Regions from separate parts of the Homo sapiens genome. Here region 1 is linked to region 2. The links are contacts of gene promoters, found by promoter capture Hi-C in blood cells and fetal thymus (Javierre and others, 2016). All regions are on one chromosome and are shown on one strand. Each heading gives the region's core, a stretch centred on a gene start or on the middle of the fragment in contact. The rest is flanking DNA. Distances are from core to core; before and after follow the strand shown.

What was found. The method cuts DNA at HindIII sites, captures the fragments that hold promoters and counts their contacts. A CHiCAGO score of 5 or more calls a contact.
Region 1: a fragment that was not itself captured here is called in contact with the fragment with the promoter of MOB3C in region 2 in 1 of 17 cell types (monocytes); the score reaches 6.5 in monocytes.

What each region holds. Positions count from the first base shown.
Region 1 is chr1:46,362,820-46,369,575 of GRCh38, forward strand. It overlaps NSUN4 (NOP2/Sun RNA methyltransferase 4), which reads left to right. Exons shown (of 6, transcript NM_199044.4): 6 at 1-2,199. Among named protein-coding and RNA genes, the nearest start is that of NSUN4, 25 kb to the left of the region's middle. RefSeq lists a silencer at 1,884-2,084. The HindIII fragment of the contact is 730 bases long and covers 4,169-4,898 here.
Region 2 is chr1:46,615,521-46,622,673 of GRCh38, forward strand. MOB3C (MOB kinase activator 3C) reads right to left here and starts at 1,291. Exons shown (of 4, transcript NM_201403.3): 1 at 1,191-1,291. LOC105378697 (a long non-coding RNA gene) reads right to left here. Exons shown (of 3, transcript XR_947297.2): 2 at 6,316-6,454; 3 at 6,175-6,208. RefSeq lists an enhancer at 716-785 and a silencer at 1,186-1,465. The HindIII fragment of the contact is 4,243 bases long and covers 1-4,243 here.

The DNA of each region.
Region 1 (6,756 bases), core at 3,284-5,783, 250 kb before region 2:
ATCACAGGGCTTCACTGCACACACTGTGTTCAGGGCAAGATTTCATCATTTACTGACTGCATACTCGATATGTTGTTTTTGTAACTTTAGCCAAAAGAAAGTAACCTTTAGTGGCAGGGATATAAAAAATTGCTCAGGGTCACTTGCAGATATTTTATTTTTAAACTTTTTTTTTTTTTCCTGGAAAACATCCTGTGCAGAAAAGGGTATATAATTTTAGAATACCTGAAGGCTTCTTGGCTTTTCCACTTTCCTTATTCCTCCTCTTCCTGCCACTCTTTTTGTCCCTTCTGTCTTTCCTGCTCATCCTTATTTGGGTATTAGAGGTGTCAGTTGAGGAGGGACTTTAGCTGAGGTTAAGCCTTCTTTTGGGATTTGCATTGTAATTGAGGGCCCTGGAAGATCTCTGAGACTCAAAATCAGGTGAAGCTAGGAAGATGGAGCTTTAAGGAGCATGGCTAGTGCTCTGAGTAGGACCGTAACCGCCTCCGTGCGTGGCATATGGTCCCTGCATGCTGTTCACTCTGTATAGTACTTAGTATTCGCTGAGGCTAAGAGGCCTCAGGTGCCTGGGCTTCTGCCCTTGGACTCCTGGATATCCAGCCTAGTGCTAATTGAATGCTAAGCAGTGGTAATTCAAAATGAGAGGGTCCCCTGCCTCTAGAGTCATCATCTAATTGGGGACAGGCAGACCTAGATAAGAAAAGCAGAGAACTACTTTGGAAAACAGTTTATCTGCTGTAATTGAACATTCAGCTACCCTATAACCCAGTTAATCCAATACTGGGGATAAATCCTAGAGAAACTCATACATGTACACCAGGAGATGTGTACAAGAATATTCATAGCAACCCTATTCACAAAAGCAAAAGCCTAGAAATAACCCAGATGCCCATGAGCAAGAGAGTGGACAAGTAAACTGGAATATTCACATAATAGAACATTATACAATTGTCAAATGAACTATAATGATACCTAACCATATGGATGAATCTGAGCAATAAAATAATTAAGTGAAAAAAGTTTAATCCCAGAAGAGTAAATGTAGCATGATGCCCTTTCTAAATGAAAGGTTTTTTCTTTTCTATGGAGTTATTCTTTACATACAATATAGTTCATAAATTTTAAATATATTGTTTAATAAATTTTGATAATTGTATATAATAGTATAGTCACCATCAAGATGTAGAAAATAGAAAATAGGCTAGGCACAGTGGCTCACGCCTGTAATCTCAACACTTTGGGAGGCCAAGGTGGGAAGATCACTTGATCCCAGGAATTCTAGATCAGCTTGGACAATGTAGTGAGACCTGGTCTTTACCAAAAAAAAAAAAAAAAAAATTAGCTGGGTGCGCTGGCATGTGCCTGTGGTCCCAGCTACTCAGGAGGCTGAGGCAGGAGGATCACTTGAGCACAGGAGTTTGAGGCTGCAGTGAGCAGCCTGGGCAAGAGAGTGAGACTCCGTTTTGTGCCACTGCACTCCAGCCAGGGTGACAGAGTGAGACTCTGTCTCAAAAAAAAAAAAAAAAAAAAAGGCATTGGGATTTATAATGTGCTGTTTAAAGTCTGAAGCTCGGCCAGGTGCGGTGGCTCACGCCTGTAATCCCAAAACTTTGGAAGGCTGAGGCAGGTGGATCACCTGAGGTCAGGAGGAGTTCAAGACCAGCCTGGCCAACGTGGTGAAACCCCATCTCTATAAAAGTACAAAAGGGCATGATGGCAGGTGCCTGTAATCTCAGCTACTCAGTAGGCTGGAGCGGGAGAACTGCTTGAACCTGGGAGGTGGAGGTTTCAGTGAGCCAAGATAGCGCCATTGCACTCCAGCGTGGGCGACAGCAAGAGACTTCATTTCGATAAATAAGTAAATAAATAAATAAAGTCTGAAGCTCCACTGGTCACTCCTTTTATTGATTATTTGCAGCTGGTCTAACCAGTTACGTATGTCTGGCTTGATTACATGGCCAGAGCAACATAAAAGCCCTGCTGGGAACTTCTGATTTGAGCTCTTCCAAAACCAGGATGGATGCCTCACATAGATCATGATGATTCAATCCAAAGGCACTTTGCAGTGCAGTCCACATGTGCATAAGGACCATGGGGAGCTTGTATTTGGGAATTCTGAGATTCCTGATGTTTACCTACCTAGTCTTTCTCTTGCTGCCCTGTATCCTTTGCCTTTAAATAAAAATCTTAAGTGATTATGCTCTGTGAAGCCTGGATAATCCTTTCAAATATTTGGTCTTGGAAAATTTTTGCATATATACATGGAATCATACAATATGTAGTCTTTGGTGTTTGACTTCTTTGACTTAGTGTAATGTTTTTGAGATTCAGTTTGTTGTGAGTATTAATGTTTTGTTCCTTTTTATTGCTGAATTGTATTCCATGGTGCAGACATACCACCATGTTGTTTATCTGTTCACCAGTTGATGGACATTTGAGTTGCTTCCAGTTTGGGGCTATTATTAGTAATGCTGCCAATACCTTTTGGGCATATAATTTTGTGAGTACGTGTTTTCTTTTCTTTTTTTATTTTTTGAGATGGAGTCTCACTCTTTTGCCCAGGCTGGAGTGCAATGGTGCAATCTCAGCTCACTGCAACCCCCGCCTCCCAGGTTCAAGCGATTCTTCTGCTGCAGCTTCCTGAGTAGCTGGGATTACAGGCACCCACCACCATGCCTGGTTAATTTCTTTGTATTTTTAGTAGAAACGGGGTTTCGCCATGTTGGCCAGGCTGGTCTCGAACTCCTGACCTCAGATGATCCACCTACCTCGGCCTCCCAAAGTGCTAGGATTACAGGTGTGAACCACTGTGCCCAGCCCATGTTTTCTTCTGAGTAAATACTTAGGGGTAGAATTGCTAGGTCATATGGTAAATGTATGTTTAACTTTATAAGGTACCACCATACTGTTTTCCAAAGTGGATCTACCATTTTGCACGGCCATCAGCAATGTATGAGAGGTCCATTTGCTCCACATCTTAGTACTAACACTTAGGATTATCAACGTTAAACTTTATTGTAGTGGGCCGGGCAGTGTGGCTTATGTCTGTAATCCCAGTACTTTGGGAGGCCGAGGCGGGCGGATCACTTAAGGTCAGGAGTTCAAGACCAGCCTGGCTAACATGGGAAAACCCCGTCTGTACTAAAAATGCAAAAATTAGCCGGGTGTGGTGGCACATACCTGTGATTCCAGCTACTTGGGAGACTAAGGCATGAGAATCACTTGCACCCAGGAGGTAGAGGTTGCAGTGAGCTGGGATTGCACCACTGTACTCCAGCCTGGGCAACAGAGGGAGACTCTGTCTCAAAAATAAATAATAAATAAAAACTTCATTCTAGTGGATGTATCTTGATACCTCGTTGTGGTCCTAATTTGCATTTCTCTAATGAGTAGTGATGCTATAAAATTAAATACAATTAAGAATTTAAAAACATGTAAAAAGAACATGTATGCAGTAAAACCATGTAAGAAGGAAAGAATGGTTCTCACTATGGAATTCAGTATAATGGTTCTTAGAGGTAGGGGGATAGGATGGGGCTGGAGGGAACATAAAGTTAGATTATTGTTAAGGCTCTAGCTTTTATGTTTGGTGCTTATTGAATTATTAAAAGCAGCTAAGTTAATAAAAAGTTATACATAAAAATTTGTTATTCATGACAAAAGTGATAAAAGTATGTTATAAACAAAGATTATGATTAATTCAATTTTGTACATCTGAGGTCTCCCTAAAAAAAGAGAAGGGGGTTGGCTGGGCATGGTGGCATGGTGGCTCATGCCTGTAATCCCAGTACTTTGGGAGGCCAAGGCAGGTGGATCACCTGAGGTCAGGAGTTCGAGACCAGGCTGGCCAACATGGTGAAACCCCATCTCTACTAAAAATACAAAAAAAAAAAAAAAAAAAAAAAAAGTGGGTAGAGAACCAAGCCCACAGAGAATAATAATGCAAAATATGGCTTAATGTAGGAGGGATCATATTGAGAGACCTGGAAGCTTAGCAGTATTGCCTCAGTCTTGTTCATGAGCTCCTCTTTCCTTGTGATTTGCAACAGTTGAACCACAGCAGAGGGTCAGGTATTGGGGCAGTTATGGGTCAATATACATTGATAGCTTGGATCTATGGTTTTCACCTTTTAGGAGTCACAAATCTGTTTGAGAGACTGGTAAAAGCTTTGGCCGTTCTCAGAAAAATAAAGACAAAAAACACCATAGCATTTTACATATAATTTCAGGGGCTTTGGTACTTCCTAAGGCCTATCTCCCCCAAGTTAAGAACCTTTGGATTAGAAGATCTCAGATTTGAGGGTCTTTAGTGGAAGGCAAGGGGGTCAAGCAGAGACCCCAGTAACAACTCAAATCACCACTCTCACCCCTGCCAATCTGCCCTTCTTCCCATCTGCATTCTTCATCTCCAAACTTAACACCACCCTTTACCCTGCTGCCCATGCCAGAAACTGCAGCTATCCTTGATGCAGTGACAGTAATCACTACTGTATATCGAACGTACCTGAGCCAGGCCCATGTGAAAAAAGCATTGTTTTACTTACATCATTGTTTCTTACTTTCACAGAAACCCTGGGATATGCTCTTTTTTGTTGTTGCCTATTTATTATAAAACTTTGAAAGAGTTATTCGTTAATTTGAACATTTTCATCCATTTTGTGGCTTTTCTTTGCACTATTTTTATGGTGTGTTTTTATTGCAGGGCAGGCAAGCCTCAAAACTGGGGCTTAGCCTGGGAGAAAGCCAGGAAAGAATTCAAGGGCAAGCTAGTGGTGTTAGACAGCAATCTTTTATTGAACAGTACTGCTCCTTGCAGAGTAAGGCTAACTCATAGGCAGCAAATCCAGAGTCAGCTGATATACTCTTTTTAGTCCCATTTTATAGAGAAGGAAACAAGCTTAGATTGCTTAAGTAACTCAAAAAGTTACAATCTGAAATTTCTTTTTTTTTTTTTTTTTTTTTTAAGACAGGGTCTGGCTCTCACCAGGGTGGAGTGCCGTGGTGTGATCTCGGCTCACTGCAACCTCCGCCTCCCAGGCTCAAGTGATCCTCCTGCCTCAGCCTACTGAGTAGCTGGGACTACAGGCACATGCCACCGCGCCTGGCTAATTTCTGTATTTTTAGTAGAGATGGGGTTTCGCCATGTTGCCCAGGCTGGTCTTGAACTCTTGAGCTCAAGTGATCAGCCTGCCTTGGCCTCCCAAAGTGCTAGGATTACAGGCATGAGCCACTGCGCCCAGCCACAATCTGAAATTCCTTTCTTGAAATGTCGCTTATATTTCTCTCCTTCCTAGCATTCCTACCTTAGGTAGGGCCTTATCATTTCTCACTGATCAAAGGCAGTAGCCTCAAAACTCATTTCTATTACTCCAATCAGCCCTAAATTCTTCCATTCTCCCCCATCCTCTCATGCCACCCCTTATCTGTTGTGTGATCGCCGATCACAATAATTCCTCCCATCCTGTCCCAGTACAATGTGACTTTGCTGCTTCTGTCATTAAGAGATGGAGTCTGTTTCCCCACCTCTTGAATCTGGGCTGATCTTATGATTTGTTTTGACCAGTAAAGTCTGGTGGAAGGGATGCTGTGCAACTTCTGCATGTAGGCCTCAAGAAGCCTCGCAACTTCCACGCTCATTTTGGAGCTCTTCTGCGGCTCTGTGAAGAAGCCTGGACCAATCTGCTGGAGACATGTGCTGGAAGCTGTCTTAGACCTCCTAAGCTCAGTTAAACGGTTAGGTGACCCAAACAGCATGAGTGACCCCAGCCAAGACCAACCTAAATCGCTGACCTCCAGAATCATGAACAAATAAAGTAGTGGTTGTTTTAAGCCAGTAAGTTTTGGAAATGGTTAAGTAAATTTAAATAAAATTTTAACATATGTCATTTGTGTTAGTAAGTAACACAAATCTGAGTGTCATTCATCTGCTTATAATTCTTTGTTCTTTAGGCTGGGCATGGTGGTTCATGCCTGTAATCCCGGCACTTTTGGAGGCCAAGGCAGGAGGGTCGCTTGAAGCCAGAAGTTTGAGACCAGCCTGAGCAACATAGGGAGAACCCATTTTTACAGAAAGATCCTTTGTTCTCTCTCCATTGCCAGCAGGATCAAGTCCAGACTTTTGCCCTGATCCCTGGTTGTTGATGCTGTTTTATCTGTGTCTGTCATGCCTTGCTGCTCCCCTTTTGCACAAATTCTTTGTCTATCCATGCATAGCATACCCCAATGCTTCTGGGTCAGGACAAATTGTCTCCTCTGTCTAAATGCCTTTTCCCTTGTGCTTTCTTGCTAGCTCAAATGTCCACCCCTCTGGAAGCTTTCTCTAATCCTTCTAAAGCTGGGTTGATCCTCTTCTGTGCTCCCCAACCTTCTCTATAATACAATGAATATAGCACTTTCCATGGCCACTTTTTCTTCTTTACCCATCTCCAAACTAGGAATTGTTAGGGACAGTAAGCTGGTATTTATTTTTGCATCCCTAACCCCCAAGTACCAACATGCTTAGTACCTATTTGGTAGTTAGTATATATTTGAGTACCTCCTATGTGCTAGGCTTAACTGTAGACGCTAGAGTGGTGAACAGAGCAGAAAAAAGTCCTTGTTCTCATGGGATGTACAATCTAGTGGGCAAGATAGACAAGTAATTACAAGTAAATTACAAGCAATTACAATTAGTTATAAGTAAATTATGAGTGAGCCAAGTACTGAGAGAAATGTAAAGTGCATATACCTGAGGGACCTAACCTCGCCTGGAGG
Region 2 (7,153 bases), core at 41-2,540:
AGCTTAGACTAGAATCTTAGAGTTAAAATAGCCCTGATAGATCAGCTGGCCCAACTCACTTGTACAGATGGGGAAACTGAGGCCCAGATGAGGAAACTGAGGCCTAAAAAGAGGACTTGAGGAGCCTGTGTCCACATAGCAAGTTACAAGCAGAACTGGGAACTGGGATAAGGTGGGGCTCAGCTCATGACCAAGAGTAAAAGACCATTTTCCTGCACTGGCTCATCAATGGTCTGGTGGAGACAGAGAAGAGGAGGGGAGTGGAGGGACAGTGGAAGCATCTTCTCCACCAAACAGCCCAACCTGCTTCCTGTCCCCAACACACTGACTCCGCACAGCAACTGGGGTGTCCTGACCAGTGAGCTAGAGTTCCACCTTACTCCTGTGGAACTTCAAGGCCTGGGTCTCTTTCCAGGAAAATGTAAGCTCAGGGGGTGGGTGCAGGGCAGGTGCTCTTCTAGCCACAGGGTTAACTCCCTTCACTCCCCACCCCCATGCCCTCACTGAGTTTCTATCTGTCACAGAACCTCTGTCTCTCCCTGAACCACTGCCGTTCCCCGTCCTAGCCCCCATTTCCCAGTGATGGCTATCCTTTCACTCCTGGAGTGGCAGTGCCTTGCTCGTTCCCTGGGTGCGGATCTGGGCTTCTCAAATGAAGACAGCAGGCTGACCCTACCTGTTTCTGATATTTAGCCCCCTGCTAGGCTACATCTACCACTCCTTGGGCCTGGCCCAGGATCTGGGCCAGAGGATGGCCCCAGTTTGAACCCAGAATCCATCCTGGGACTCTCTCTAGGACAGAGGTCGAAGAGAAAAAGTAGAGGCGAAGACTCCACGCTCTCCTCGCGGCGCGCAGCCACCCACGCCCACCCCCGGCTTCCCTGCAACCTCAAACCAGCTCCCAGGGCCAGGAAGGTCGTAGGACCCAGAGGAGCCCGCCTGACATTTCCGCTCCCCGAAAACACGCCCCCCAACCCCTCCCCTCTGCCCCGTACTCCCCCACCCCGACAATCCCCCCCGCAACTTTCGAAGCTCTGAGCCTCGGACGCCAGCCTCAGGACAGCGGCCAGCCTGCCTTCGGGCGGGACTCTCCTCCGGACTGTGCCACGCCAGGACGGCCGAAGAAATGAAAGTGGAAGCCAGGCGGGCGGGGTGCGCGGCGAGGCCGCAGGGGCACGGCGCACACTCACGGGTCCTCTTCTGGCCGTGGGGTCACATTCCCAGCCACAGGATCGCCTTTCTCCTGCAGGTCCCGCAGTGCCTGTTCTCTCTCCTGTCAGCCTGTCCGTCTGCCTGTCCTGCCGGCCGCGGCTGCCCTCCTGCCCCGGGCGACGCCAGCTCCGCCCCGGCCCCGCCACGCCGCGGCCACGGGGCGGGGAGGGGCGGAGAAAGGGGACTCCCCTCCACTCCAGTACACAGACGCACTCGCCCCCACCTTCCCGGAAAGTCCATATGGGGCTCCCAGCTTCCCCTTGGACAAAGGACTAACTGAGCTGCCCGCCCTCTCGGTGCTTCCTTGGACCTCCACCAAGGAGGCAGCCTCAAGTTCCCAGACAGTAAAATGGGAAAACGCTCGGCTTCTTCTGGAGCAGAAACAAGAGCTGCTAGATAAGGGTGGTTTCTTTGCCCTCCTAGAATCGTCTGCGTCACACTTGTCCCGGGACCCAATAAGGGATCGGGACCGTCCTATCCACTCCCATATCCTCAGCTCCTGGCACATAGCAGGAACTCAAAACCCACTTGATGAATGAATGAATGGGTGAGTGAAGGAATAAATGAACGCCTTGGGAATCATGAGCTGAGTCCTTCACCCCTGAGGGACAAGCCCCAGAAGAGCGCTCAAATCACAAACTTCATCTCCTCACCAGGGAGGGGGCCTGGCTCAGGTTGGGCTGATTCTCCTTGCTCCTTACCCAGAGTCACCCCATTTCTTATCTCCAGACCCTTATCCCAGCTGTTCCATTTTAGAATACCTTCTCTCCCTCCTTCCTTCTGACAAATCCAAACCACTCAAGATCTGATCTGCTCTCCCTACCACCTGGGTTCCTTCGAGGACAGACAGATATCCCACCAGCATTCAATGCACACCGTGGCCCCCAGGCCCAGGGACCAGTTGGCTGCTCTGTCTGGGATGGGAGGGAAGATTGGAGGCTTTCTAGGGTAGGAAGCCCAAAGCAGAGAGCTTAGCCATAGAAGCCACTCTGGAGGGGTGGGAGGTGAGTAGATGCGGGTAGGGGAGAGCTGGAGGCCAGAGGTGGGCATTTACCATGGCACACTGGACCTCCCTTGTGTCTGGACCTTCTGTTGCTGGATGACATGAGAACACGCTAGATCCTTAACCCAGATCATATCCTTTGCAGCAACATGGGCTGGAGCTGGAGGCCATTATCCTAAGCAGACTAACACAGGAATAGAAAACCAAATACTGCATATTCTCACTTACAAGTAGGAGCTAAACAATGAGAATACATAGATACTAGGAGGGGAACAGCAGACACTGGGGCCTGCTTGGGAGTGGAGGGCGGGAGGAGGGAGGATGAGACAAAAATACCCATCAGGTACTATGCTGCTTACCTCGGTGATGAAATTATCTGTACACCAAATCCCCATGACACAGAGTTTACTTATATAACAAACCTACACATGTACCCTTGAACCTAAAATAAAAGTAAAGAAAGAATCCCAGCTCATAGAACTGTGGGTATGTTCTTTTGTTGAGCACCAATTTTTGCCCCAGTCTAAAGTTCTCTGTATTTTTATGTCTGACTCTTAACTCTCTGCCCTGAATCCCCTATAAACAAACACTTGCTTATGGAGCAAATTAAACTATGCTTCTTTATTTATTTGATATCCTAATCAATATCTTTTATTGAGTATAACTCTCCACTCATATCAGATCAGGGGACTGGGTGATAAAGCTGACCTGGTTGCCGACCTCAGGTGCTGACAGGTCAGTAAAGGGGACAACACACAGAGATACACAAGGTCACAGCTCAGTCACCCAGAAGTGAGAATGTGGTTGTGGACTGACGGACTTTGTAAGAGTCGGGGTATTTGCAGGAAGCACATGGAACACCCAGAATGGGTATGTTTAATGAAGACATTATTTACAGGTATGGTCAAGGTGTAGGGAAACCACACAGTGTATCACCAAAGGGCTCACAAGAGCAGAGGCTGTCAACCCCAGGCTGCAGGAGTGTGGGGAAGGAATGGTGAAAGTGGGAGCTATGAGGAGGGCGCTGCTGTGGCCTAAGGTGGAGGGGCATACCCAGCTCACAGCAATCATACAGGGAAGGACAGGGGGCAAGTAAGAGGCCTCACTCTCCTCCCTCTCTCCCTCCGTCTGATCTCTGGCCAGGTTTCCCCCACTAGCTGAATCCTCCCAGAAGCTAAGAACAAGGGAACCTGTTGCTGCAGCCCATAGACGTCAGCCTCCTAGGGCGTAGAAATGGGTAGAGGGTGGAGAGCCATCTGAGGAGCCATGTGGGGTCAGGGCTGACTTCATAGGGGAAATGATTTGGAAACTGCTTGTGTTTTCCTTATCATTCAGTTCTAAATAGTTCATAAATTTCAGTGTAATTTCCTCTTTAACTCTTGAATGATTTCAAAGTATGTTTTTCAGTTTCTCAGCCTATGGGAGGTTTATGTTTTTCTTGTTGAGTTCTAATTATATTGCATTGTGGTCAGAGATCATGGTCTGGAAGATTCTTCAGAATTTGATGTGACTTCCTCTGCAGAGGCTTTGTGCAGGGTCATTTTCTGGACCTCTGAGCTGGGTTTTACAGGATAGGCAGGAGTTTTTCTGGTGAAGAGTGAACAGCACAGAACCTTACACTGTGGGAAATAGAGATGATCCATTTTGAAGGAACATCAGAAATTCCCAGCTCATCCTCAGAGTCCCTGGGTGTCTGTGGGATGGGAGGCAGGTGGAAGGGTTGGGGGAAGCGAGAGAGCCCAGATCTCTCAACTACCTGTACCCTCTTCCTGCCCTTCTCAGTCTTGGTTAGAGAGACTAGTTCTTCTAGGAGGCTCTGCTGGGGCTGAAAAGACCCAGACCTTGGAGAACAGTGTCCTGGCTTTACCGTAATTTAGCTGTGTGGCCTTGGGATGGTTCTGCCCTCTCTGATGAGACACTGTAACCCTCCAGCACTGGAGACCTACACAAGATGGGCTCTGTTCCCTGCCACTGTGTCTTGAGTATGATAAATGGCTCCAGAAGACTTCAAACAAGGCTCATCTCTGAAGCTTGGCGTGAGCCAGTGAGGACCTAGGAGAGGACGTGCCCTTTTCCACTACTCAGCCTGGGCACATGCCCCCCTCGCAGTGGGAACTCTGAGTGGCAGCAGGGTGGTGTCTACCTGCTGTGTGCCTTTGGGAAAGCCCTTGCCCCTCTCTGGGCCTTAGTTTCTACACCTCTACCATGAAAGCATCTTCTAGCCATACGAAGTACCACTCCAAGTACCTTATCAGAACCAGCTTCCTGTGCCTTCCCGCTGTAGGCCTGTATCCAGTGACTCTACTGATACAGAGTGGCCACTTCCTGGGGACTCCCCAGCCCTTCCTATGCCAAGAAAGCTCCCCCACTCCCACCCTGCCCCCCAGAATAAGATACTGCACCCTCAGTTCACCTTACCAGATGTCTGGCAGCTACTATAGCCTGATAGGGCCCACCCTCTACTCACTCTCTCCCAAGAAAGAGTTTCCATTTCAGCTTCTGCCCCTCCCTGCCCAGGAGGCAGGATCATCCGTCCTGGATTTTCCATCCTGGCCCATTGAGGAGAATGCCATGGGCACCCTTACGGCAGTCAGAGGAATTGAGGTTAAACTTCCTTTCACTTGAAGAAGACAAGGTTCAAGGGAAGATGGCAGGGGAAGACAAGGTTGACAAGGACATGCACTAAAATTCTGTGTGACCATGGACAAGGCACTTGTTCTCTGAGCCTATTTCACCTTCTCTAAAGTAAAGACAACAACAACAACATCTGCCCCACAGAAGAGCTGAGAGAATCAAATGTGATAGCACTTGTAAACAGTAGAAGGCTGTGGTCAGTCTGTTTCAGGGGTACTGCCTTCAAACACCCAGCAGGTGTTTGTGTGGAAGAGGGACTGAGCTTGTTCCAGGGTCCTGGAGAGCAGTGGGCAGACACCCAGGACAATATGAAGGGGCGCTTGGCACATCAGAGCTGTCCAACCATGCAGCCGGGATGGCTGTGCTGTTCTCTCAAGAGGGAGTGGTGCAAGCAGAAGTTACCAGTCCCGGGTGACATGGACTTCAGAGGGTTTCAGTCCCTCCAGAGACGGGGAGGGCCGTCTTGCCTCTAAGAACCTCAGGCTCCAGTGTTCTCTGCTCCAAGCTCCTCCTCCTTCCCAGCCATCTCCCCTTAAGGTAGAGGCATTCCTCTCATCTCTTCCATCTTGGGAAGGAGACCTCTGGAGGCTGGGTGGAAGCCTAGTGTGTATAAGTGCCTGAAGACAATTTCACAGCCCTCAGACCTCACCCTCAACATGGCCCCAGTAGGCATTGTCCCCTCCAACCACTTGGGTTAGTTCCCAGCCTGGGGTGCCCCACGAGTGGAGGTGATAGTTGTGGGGGAGGGGTGGTTTCACCAGTGTTCCAGGCTCAGCTTTCCATGGAACCCACTATGAAGGCTGCCCAGGAAATTCTGTCCAACCTAGCCCCTTCTCTGCTGCTGGGGTGCCTCCATGTCAGCCTCTGGGGCTGCCGCCTGGAGCAACCCCCACTTAGTTCAAAGCTCTTCTATAGAAAGCCCTCAGATTGCCCCAGTCTGGATGCACCCTCCTCCTTCCTCCACAGCACAGCATCCTTTCTCCAAGTGTGTTCAGTAACACCTGCCTCCCTGCCTCAGAGTTGCCAGCAGGGATGGGGGTTTCTTATGGTCCCCAGAGAGCTGGGTGTTATCTTTTAGCAATAATGGTAGTAAATTATGGCTGGGCGCAGTGACTCATGCCTGTAATCCCAGCACTTTGGGAGGCCAAGGCGGGCGAATCATAAGAGGTCAGGAGTTTGAGACCAGCTTGGCCAACATGGCAAAACCCTGCCTCTACTAAAAACACAAAAATTAGCCGGGCATGGTGGCTTGCACCTGTAATACCAGCTACTCAGGAGGCTGAAGCAGGAGAATCGCTTGAACCCAGGAGGCAGATGTTGCAGTGAGCCGAGATCCAGCTTGAGTGATACAGCGAGACTCTGTCTCAAAAAGAAAAAAAATAAAATAATGGTAGTAAATTATGATTTCAACTATTATGGTGGTGTGAAAACACATCAATTTCTTCTATTTGTTCATTCATTCTTACATTCCACAAGTATTTACTGAGGGCCCGTTAGATGTCAGGCACTGTGTTGGCCAGTTGCAGACCTTCCCCTTGCTTTGTGGGTGGTGACAAAGGCCTCGGTCTTCTAAGGAACTTCCACTGGGCCCACGAGTCCCACTGGCTACAAAGGAATATTATTGAACAACAGGTCAGGGAGGAGTGGCTTGTAAAAGGGAAAGGTTCTTGGATATCATTTAGTCTAATCTCCTCGAAGTATGTGGAAAACTGAGACATAGGGAGAGGAAGAGATCAGCCCAATGATGAATCATGACAATAAAAACCATTCAGTGAACCTTACGTATGCCTCTCCCTGAGAGGCATATTCTCATTTCTTCTTCTCAGCAACCCTGGGAGAGAGGGAGGTTTATCTTTCTAGAGCTTTTAAGTTGTTCTTCCCTTCAGAGAGGGACGGAGGGGCTGGAAAGAAAGTTCCACTAAGTAGAGAGAAGGGATTGGCCGTGTTTAGATGACGTTCCAAACTCTACACTGCAGCTCTCTTTGGGTCCCATCTTGGCTTCATGTCCAGGAGATGGGAGAGCTGTGTCTGCTGCAGCGGGAAGCAGCAATTCAGTGGGTGGAGTCCACTTCTTATTGGAGACTCATGCTGCACCCCGTAGAGTCTGGATTCCACACAAGTACAGCTTGTGACTTCCTGCAGAATGTCATCAAATTGCATTTGGGGCCTTTTCAAGAAGTAGCTGTAGGAGCTCCGCTTTGCCTAAGGCTAAGCAGACTAAGGGTATGCTCTTGGCTTTCCCAGGAAGTTTTCCTAAATTACACCAGCTGCCTGGAACCAACCCTCCTCAGGGGGGAGCCCTTG